Regions from separate parts of the Homo sapiens genome. Here region 1 is linked to region 2. The links are contacts of gene promoters, found by promoter capture Hi-C in human tissues and cell types (Jung and others, 2019). All regions are on one chromosome and are shown on one strand. Each heading gives the region's core, a stretch centred on a gene start or on the middle of the fragment in contact. The rest is flanking DNA. Distances are from core to core; before and after follow the strand shown. Region 1 has its middle 39 kb from the start of CTAGE1. Region 2 holds the start of ESCO1 (establishment of sister chromatid cohesion N-acetyltransferase 1).

Region 1 (4,951 bases), core at 1,985-4,484, 780 kb before region 2:
CCTCCCAAGGATCCAAGTTGTTCAAACAGGGTATTCTCGGGTCCCTTGTTTTAGTGATTAGTTCACAAGTGGGCCAATCCAAGTAGAGCTCAGGACTCTTATGCAAAAGCTATGAGAAGTGGGGCTCTTCCTCCCTGTGAAGATGGATGTGAGAGCCTGAATCCTAGTCTTGTTGCCAGAAGGGAAGCCAGCCCGAGAATAAAGCCAATCAATATACAAGAGTCACTAGAGAACGATGAAGAAACTGAGCAGGAGGTCTAATCAAGCCAGGCATGAAACCTACCCTGCCACTGAATGTTTCAAGTATATAAGCCAAAAAAGTTCCACTTCTTGTTTAAGCAAGTGTGAACTGGGTTTTCTGTTACAGAAGGCCTTCTCACTGATTAACATACTGATAGATAGGATATATTAAATATATATATTCACACATACACGTAATTTAAAGGACTAGATCAAAAAACATCAAAAATTAACAGTGATGTAGATTGTAGGAGTGTGGGCAACTTTAATTTCCCCTTTATGCTTATCTGAATTGTCTATAATAAATATTCATTAGTTTCACTAGCAGAAAGAAATCATTCATAATAATGTAGCATTTATGGGTGAAGTGGCATGGTTCTGGGATTTATTTTAAACTACCTTAGCAAAAAGCAAAGGTTGGAGGGAGATAGATTGAACAAATTTAGCAAGATATCCATATTGATATTGATGCTAGGTGACAGGGACATAAGGTTCATTGTACTATTCTGGCTTTCATAATTTTGAAAATTCACATAATAAAATGATGAAAGAAGGAAGGAAAGAAGGAGGGAGGGAGGGAAGGAGGGAGGGAGCGAGAGAGGGAGGGTGAATCTGCAGAGGTTGTTCTAATTACCATTGCTGGCTTTGCACTGTGCTGCATCTGTCCCAATGGGTCCTGAGTGTGCCCGTCCATTGCCTGGCGACTACAAGTTGGTGAACGCATCCTTCATAACTTCTCTGTCCTTCATCTGGATTGCACTGCTTTGGAGGTGGCTGTGAAACCTGTTGAACATCAACGCACTGCTCAGCAACCTCCCCACCCACCCCGCTCCATCACCACTGACAAAATGTGTATATTTATATTTGTATCAACTCTGCAAAAAAAAAATATATATATACATATATATATCTCTCTTCAATGTTGGACTTGTTGTCTTATTTTACAGTAGCATTTGAAATAATGTCAGATGTCCCCACTGTGACGGGGAGCTTCCATGAATGAGATTAATTCCGTGAATTGGATAAAATAAATCCAGACATTACTGAAATTAACTAATTTTCTTTATAACGCATCTGATGACAGTGATGAAAATCTGGCATCATTTAACTGTGTGCAAAGTTCTTTTCCTGCAAATGGAGACAATTCATTTAGAGTACAGCTTCATTTTCTTACATACAAAGAAAATTTAGAATGAAAAGGATTAAGTGGATTTAGAAAAACAGATACGTAGTCAAAGTGAGAAATTATGCTTCACGGGGTAATATGTAACCTTCCTGCTGTAGGTTCATGTGTTGAATCATTGAGACTACTTGTTATTTGTCTTTTAAGTTTGCATAACCAATTGCTACAAACATGGTGGCTTAAAAGAACAGAATTTATTCTTACAGTTCTGGAGGCCAGAAGTCCAAAATCAAAGTGTCCACAGGGCCACACTCCCACTGAAGGCTCTGGGTGACAATCGCTCCTTGCTCCTTCCAGCTTCTGGTGGCTGTCAGCTTTGCTTGTGGCCACAGCACTCCATCTCCATCTTCATCTTCATATGGCCTTCTCCTCCATGTCTCTGTCTCCTCTTCTCTGTCTTAGAATGACACTTGTCATAGGATTTAGGGCTCACCTGGATCATCCAGAATGATTTCATCTTGAGATCCTTAATTACATCTGCAGGTAAGACCTCTTTTTAAAAATTAGGTCACTTTCACAGGTTCTGAGTATACATACATTTTGGGTGGACTACCATTCAACCCACTACACTACTTAACTACTAACTTGGAAGCAGATGGTAACATTTCTTCAGCAGTTTTGACAATGTTACCACTGTAGCACTTTGAATGCCAACCAGTAGTTTGTGTCACTTAACCTTTCAACATCAACTTTCTTAAGAAATAGAAACTCAGCACTTAATTTTTTATTAATCATGCACTTAATTTTTAACCTCCTTGCTGCTGAAAGCATTTAATGTAAAATTTTAGAGAAATATTAACAAATAAAAATAAAGCAATATTTGTGATGCCCCCCATACAGTAAGTAACAAGATTACTCTAACAAGAGCATTTGGACTATGCCCTACAGACCGACTGCTCAGATCCTATTTCCCCCACATTTTTTACACACACATAACCTAAAATCTGCTTTATTTCCATTGGATGGTGCAGACTAATGGTCTACCAGCTTTGCACATCTCATAAACTGCAGCTGGAGCCATGGCACAACTAGATGGCACACCAAGTGACCAGCAGGGGCAGTCACATCAAATACCTCCCTAGATCTGAAGGAATGAGCTGTTCTGAGCTGCTCATACCCCACTGCACTTAGTTTTATCACTGAATGCCCTGCGTGCTATCCTTGAAAGGGAGATGCTAGTTATATTCCATCTAGAAAGAATGGGAAAAGAAACCCAGGAGAAGAGAGTGGGATTATTTCTGGTCCTTTTTCAAAATTACTAACATATGAAAGTGAGAATTCCAATCACTGCTATACAGCCTTGGAAGAAGTTCTTCTAATCAACAGGTTTACCAAATACTTGGCTTCATTTAACTCAATTAATAATAAAAATACTTTATTTAAAATAAAAAGTCAGTCTGGGTACAGTGATGCTCACCTGTAATCCCAGCTACTTGAGAGGCTGAGCTGGAAGGATCGCTTGAGGCTGGGAGTTTGAGACCAGCCTGGGCAACATACTGAGACCCCATCTTTAAACAAACAAATAAATAAATAAAAATAAAAACATTAAAACTCAGGAAAATTACAAACTACATGTAAAGGCAGGATAGTAGAGATAAGTTAGGACCATCCTAGGCAATCAGAGACATGAATTATCTTACCTAGAACTCACATAGGTTTTTCCATCTCTATAGTTTAACCTTTTCGAGAAAGTCATACATGTGGAAACTTCCTTCTGAGTCTGGCTTCTTTAACGTGGCATAATGCATTTGAGATTCATTCATGTTGTTGCATGTATCAATAGTTGATTATTTTTATTGCTGAGTATGGATGTATCAAAATTTGTTTATCCATTCACCTGTTATAAGGCATTTAACTTGTTTTCAGTTTTTGGTGATTACAGATAGTACTGCTATAAATATTCATGTACAGGTTTTTGTGAAAACATAAGTTTTCATTTCTTTAGGTTAAACATTTAAGAGTAGAATTGCTGAGTCATATGGAAAATGCATATGTAATTTTATAAGAAATTGCCAAACTGTTTTTCAAAAATGGTGGCTGTTCTTTGGCAGTCCTACCTGCAATATATGAAAATTCCAGTTGCCCTGAATGTTCACCGGCACTTGGTACTGCCAGGCTTATTTGATTGTTTTTTAACCACTCTAATATGTATGCAGTGGTATCTTTTATGGTTTTCATTTGCATTTTCCTAATGAATAATATTGAGCTTCCTTCCACATACTTATTTGTCACATATATGTCTTGTTTGGTGAAGTGTTAACATTTTTTGCCAATTATATAATTGAGTTTCTTTCTTTCTTATTGAGGTTTGAGAGCTCTTCATATATTCTAGACATAAGCTTCTTATCAGAGATGTGATTTTCAAATATTTTCACTCAGTGTACAGCTTGTTTTTTTATTCTTTTAGCAGTTATTTGCTCAGAGCAAGAGATTTCAATTTTTATGAAGTTCACTTATCAATTTTTTAATTGATCATATTTTTAGTATTATATCTGAGAGAAAGCTTTCACTGAACTCAAGATCACAAAGATTTTCTTCCCTTTTTTCTTTTAATAATTTTATGGATTTTTTATGTTTAGTTCTCTGACGCATTTTAATTTTTAAAAGGTATGAGGTTTAGGTCTAGGTTCTTATTTTGTAAACGGACGTCCTATTAGTCCAACACCGTTTGTTGAAAAGACAATCCTTTCTCCATTGGATTGCTTTCCATCTTTGTCAAAATCAACTGATCATATTTATGTGGTTCTATTTCTGCACTCTCTATCTGTTCCATTTATCTATGTGTTTATCCTTTTGCCCATACCACACTGTCTTGATGATTATGATGTTATAGTAAGTCTTCAGTTCAGGTAGTGTGAGTCTTCTAACTTTGTTCTTTTTCAAAACCATTCTGGCTGTTGTAATTCCTCTGCCTTTCCATAAAAATGTTAGGATCAGCTATAAAAATCCTGCTATTTTACTTGGGATTGCATTGAATCTATATCAATATGGGGAGGATGAACATGTTAATAAGACTGAGTTTTTCAACCCATGAACAGAGTATATTTTTTCATTTATTTCCATCTTTGTTGATTTTTTTCATTAGCATTTTGTCATCTTCAGCATACCAACCTACATGTACTTTGCTAGATTCACAACTATTTCATTTTTTGATTTTTTTGGAGCTATTGTAATTGATCCTTTCTTTGTAATTTCTATTTGACATTGTTTATTGTTAGTACATACATATATGAGGTTTTTATATTTACCATGTATCTTGCAACATTGCTAAACTCATTAATTCCAGTTTTCTAGAAGATTCATTGGGATTTTCTATGTAGACAATCATGCCATCTGTGAACAGAGGCAGTTTTATTTTTTTTCTTTCCATTGTAAATGCATTTTTCCCCTTACTATACTATGGCTGGGACTGCCAGCATGATATTGCCTTATTCCTGATCTTAGGGGGAAAGCATTCTGTCTTTCACTATTAAGTATGTTAGTTGCAGGGTTTTTGTTAATGCCATTCATCAGATTAAAAAAATTCCT
Region 2 (4,751 bases), core at 774-3,273:
CAAGTAACACAACTATGGTAATGTGAAGAATGGCCTCACCCATCAATACCTCCCAAACAGCTGGGATTACAAACGTGAGCCACTGCGCCCAGCCTCGTTTTTGTTTTTAAGCCATAACATCTCCCTGCGCAAACTGACAGGCAGCTCACTATTCGTGGAAGATGAATTGTCAGAAAAACATCAGGTTTGACAAACTTAGAGCACATTTTGGTTGTACTTGGCTTCAAAGAAGGAGGGCAGGAAGGGGAAAACCCATTTATGATCACCTCTTCCCATTCTGAAATGCAGAAGTACCGAACTAGCCTCACAGTTCCGCAAATAAGCAAAGGGTAGCACAGAACATATGTTCAAAAGCAGTCTAGTAGCCGGAGCAGTGGCTTAGGCCTGTAGTCCCAGCGCTTTGGGAAGCCAAGGAGAGAAGAGAGGATCACTTGAGGCCAGGAGTTCGAGATCAGCCTGGGCTGGTCTCAGTGAGACCTTATCCCTACAAAATATAAAAAAATTAGCCTGGCGGCCGGGCGCGGTGGCTTACGCCTGTAATCCCAGCACTTTGGGAGGCCGAGGCAGGTGGGATCACAAGGTCAGAAGTTCGAGACCAGCCTGGCCAAGATGGTGAAACCCCGTCTCTACTAAAAATAAAAAATTAGCCGGGCATGGTGGCAGGCACCTGTAGTCCCAGCTACTCAGGAGGCTGAGGCAGGAGAATTCCTTGAACCTGGGAGGCGGAGGTTGCAGTGAGCCGAGATCGTGCCATTGCACTCTAGCCTGGGTGACAAGAGTGAGACTCCATCTCAAAAAAAAAAAAAAAAATTAGCCTGGCATGGTGTCGTGGGCTTCATACATGCAGTTCTCAGGGAGGCTGAGGCAGGTGGGATCGCTTGAGCCCAAGTCGAGGCTGCAGTGAGCCGTTACTGTGCCACTGCACACCAGCCAGGGCTACACAGCAAGATCCTTCCTGTCACAAAAGAAAGAAGTGTGGGAACCATGAATCCTAGTGATAGAATCTTGGATTCTATCTCTAGAGGCGTCCAAGAGCGAGCCAAAGCTTTGTCTGAACACTCAGTCTGACTAAGTCTAGCAGAATATTTTACAATTTCTGATGATTCTTGCACTCTGATACACAGGAAGAAAGTGTGCAAGGAGAGGGCGAAGCCCTGCATTTTTTGGAGGTGCTGGAGGGCAGTGTAGGGACTGCACCCTCCTTTTTTTTTTATTTGAGACAGGGTCTCACTCGTCCAGACTAGAGTGCAGTGGCCCAGTCTCAGCTCACCACAACCTCCGCCTCCCAGGCTCAAGGGATTCTCCCGCCTCAGCCTCTCGAGTAGCTGGGATTACAGTCGCACGCCACTACCACCCGGCTAATTTTTGTATTTCTAGTAGAGACGGGGTTTCACCATGTTGGCCATGTTGGCCAGGCTGGTCTCGAACTCCTAACCTCAAATGATCCACCCGCCTCTGCTTCCCAAAGTGCTGGGATTACAGGCGTGAACCACCGCGCCCGGCCCCACCCTCCTTCTTTACATTGGCTCATATGGAAGACCAAAGGCACTTGGATTATACATCGCAGACAGAAGCAGCCAAAACCTACATGGCAACCAGTTGCGACAAATTTCCAAGGTAAACCACAACCGCTGGGGGCCTGGGTGGTTTTCAGCTCAAAGCGATGACCCCAGGAACGACAAGCGGCCGCCGCTAGGGGGCGCCGCCACTTCCCTGCCAGGCGACCACCCGCGGAGGCGCGCGCGCTAGGCCTCCCACCGCGCCTGCGCTGAGGATGGACACTAGCTCGCCTTTCCTCGACGCCCAGCCGTCCGGGCCGGGGTGAAAAACTGCGTGACACGCAGTGAGCGTGGCGGCCATCTTCGTCTTCTGGGCACGTCAGCTGAGCCGGTTAGGGCTGAAGAGGAGCGTTGCGCAAGCGCACCCAAGACGGTCACAGGTAACTCCCATCTGACGAGCGAGGCGTCGCCGTCGTCGCCGGAAGTTTGGTGTTTGCGCCGCGGGGGAGGCGGCGGCCGCAGCAGAAGCAGCTGAGTGTCTCCTGATACCCGGATGTGAGGCGATCCGCTGGCGCTAGTCTGACCCTCCGCCAGGCAAAAGGAAGGTACGCGAGCGTCCCTGACGGTCCCCGCCGCCTGTGTCTTCACCTCTCTTTTGCCAGCCCCTTCAGGGAGCGGACAGTTCTCCCTCTTCCTGTTCCACCCTCGGTGGCGTGTTGCCTCGCACGCCCCTTCCTACTGCTCCGGTCCCAGCTCTTCGCGCCCCTGGGAGGGAGGTGGGAGGCTCTAGGCTCCAAGACGCCGTCGCTTGAGGTAGGCAGCTAACGTGCTCGCGTGTCCGCGCACCACCTGCCGCTGTTTGCTGGGCGGTCGAAGTTCATAAGGGGTCGTGACCGCCGACGGGGCAGGGCCGGAGTTCCCAGCACTGCCGCGAGGGCTCCGGGAGCCCCGAGGTGGCGCGCAGCCATTGCTAGCACCGGGGCAGCGCCAGTGCTGGTCCCGCAGGTAGCTCCGGGCCCCGTCTCCGCCCCCTGCGTTTTCTCTTCCCGGCGCTTCACCGGAGCCAGTCCCTCGCCGCCTCCTGGCGCAACCCGCTGACCCGGCCTGAGCCTGGAGGCCTCTGCAGTTTGCGGGGCGCGATGTGGGGTCTTGGTTTTACAGCCTTCAGTTTGGGAGGGGAGCGGGCCCAAGGTCATAGAGTAACTCATGCTGCAAATGGGGGTCTCGGCACAGGTAGGGCGGCTCTGGAGTAGAAATGAGTGCATTGAGGGCCGCAGTGAAGTTTATAGCGATGGAGAGAGGCGAACCAAAGAGAATTGGGTCCTCGATTTTTATCACGGGTTAAGATTATTTTACTATGGGGGTTTATTTTGCACAGGCAGAATGGGATAGCAAGTCCAACAATTCGAAGACTACCTCCTCTCCCTCCGCCTCTCAATGATGCGTCCGAAAATCCGGCGTGTGCTTTATTTTCCGGGGCGATGGGGACGCAGCGGGGACCAGGGGAGGGAGGAAGAGGAGGAGGAAGGAGCTCAAGCTTTGCGATTTGAGAAGTACTATGAACCATGTTTTCTGTAGTCTTAGCTGCAATGAGATTCCTTTAAACAGGAATCGCAGCACACAGTATCTAGATAGTATTACAAAACGATATCTCAATAAATAAGCTTCGCAGGAAACAAAAGCGCTACTTGGTGGCATAAGGTGTGGTTAGTCCCCCCACCAGCATTGGCTTTTTTAAAAAAGTGGATAAAACATAGATTTCAGTTGAAAACATCCAGGTTGCAGTGAACTATGCTATATTCACTTTGTCTTCTGGTCAAGTACTTAGTTTCTGCTTTACACAGGACACCAACACGAATAAAGTTTTAAGTTATTATTTTATTTTGAGACGGGGTCTCGCTCTGTCGCCCAGACTGGATTGCAGTGGTGTAATCACTGTTCACTGCAGCCTTGACCTCCCTCCCCGGCCCCAAGCAATCCTCCCACCTCCGCCTCCCTGAGTGGCTGAGACTACAGGCGTCCGCTACCATGTTAGGCTAAGTTTTCTATTTGTTGTTGAGACGGCGTTTCGCCATGTTGCCCAGGCTGGTCTCGAACTCCTGGGATCAAGTGATCACCTGGGCCTCCAAAAGTGCTGGGATTACAGGCCTGAGCCACTGTGCCTGGTGAATTTTTTTTTTTTTTTGAAAAGCAAAAAATCTAATCAATGGAATTAGACATGGGAGTAGGATGAGAAGTGCTTTAAAACGTGCTTAATTTGGAAGTCGCAAATTCAGGCCTAGAGCATGTGAGGAAATGAGGAAACTAGGACTGTAATAGAGCCACTTTTTCCCTTTTAGGCAGAATGCAGAGTATCACTGTTGGGTCAGATATGTGACTTTGGAAGCACAATTCCAAAATTTGTCCTGGCTTACGAGCTAGAACTCCTTTATCATTGCTAACTGAGGAAAATATGCTATTGTCTCACCTTTCTCAATCAATATTATAATCCTGTAGTGAACAAGTAATTGTTTGTTTTTTTTTTTTGAGATGGAGTCTCACTCTGTCGTCCGGGCTGGAGGGCAGTGGCGAGATCTCGGCTCACTGCAATCTCCGCCTCCTGGGTTCAAGTGATTCTCCTGCCTCGGCCTCCCGAGTAGCTGGGATTACAGACAAGTGCCACCATGCCCGGCTAATTTTTTTGTATTTTTAGTAGAGATAGGGTTTCACCGTGTTGGCCAGGCTGGTCTTGAACTCCTGACCTCAGGTGATCCGCCTGCCTCGGCCTCCCAAAGTGCTGGGATTACAGGCGTGAGCCACCATGCCCGGCCAAGTAATTTTTTTAATGTCCGTCCCATACAAGGTGCTGGCATTTAAATTGATAAATTATGCTTCACAGAATAACTAAAAAAGTACCCTAATTAATGAATGCCATTAACTTCTTTTGCCAGATAGTCCTTTTTAGCTTGGTAATTTATTATGCAGAGCTGATTGTATTTATTCTGTTAATGAACGTGACCAGCGCTGCACAGTTCGAATAATGGATTTTTTTGTAATAGTTAAATATTTTTTCATGACTTTTATTGGCAGATTTTTGTACCACATAGAGTTCTTGGAATACCTTCTATTGAAGGTGATTAAAATTTAGGTACTAGAAACCAACTCCAGTAAAATTGTTACTGTAGATAATTAAGGACTATATTACCCCTTTTGTAACCCTGACTTTCATATTTTTCTGTGGATCATTCAATGAAAATCCTTTGGTTCTGTTTT

What was found. Contacts are between HindIII fragments. The study calls those that stand out against the background at their distance.
Region 1: a fragment that was not itself captured here is called in contact with the fragment with the promoter of ESCO1 in region 2 in 1 of the 25 tissues and cell types used here (heart left ventricle).

The regions. Positions count from the first base shown.
Region 1 is chr18:22,376,402-22,381,352 of GRCh38, reverse strand. No RefSeq gene overlaps it. Among named protein-coding and RNA genes, the nearest start is that of CTAGE1, 39 kb to the left of the region's middle. The HindIII fragment of the contact is 4,698 bases long and covers 886-4,951 here.
Region 2 is chr18:21,597,976-21,602,726 of GRCh38, reverse strand. It overlaps ESCO1 (establishment of sister chromatid cohesion N-acetyltransferase 1), which reads left to right and starts at 2,023. Exons shown (of 12, transcript NM_052911.3): 1 at 2,023-2,104. RefSeq lists enhancers at 394-473, 1,798-2,317, 3,385-3,679. The HindIII fragment of the contact is 11,871 bases long and covers 1-4,751 here.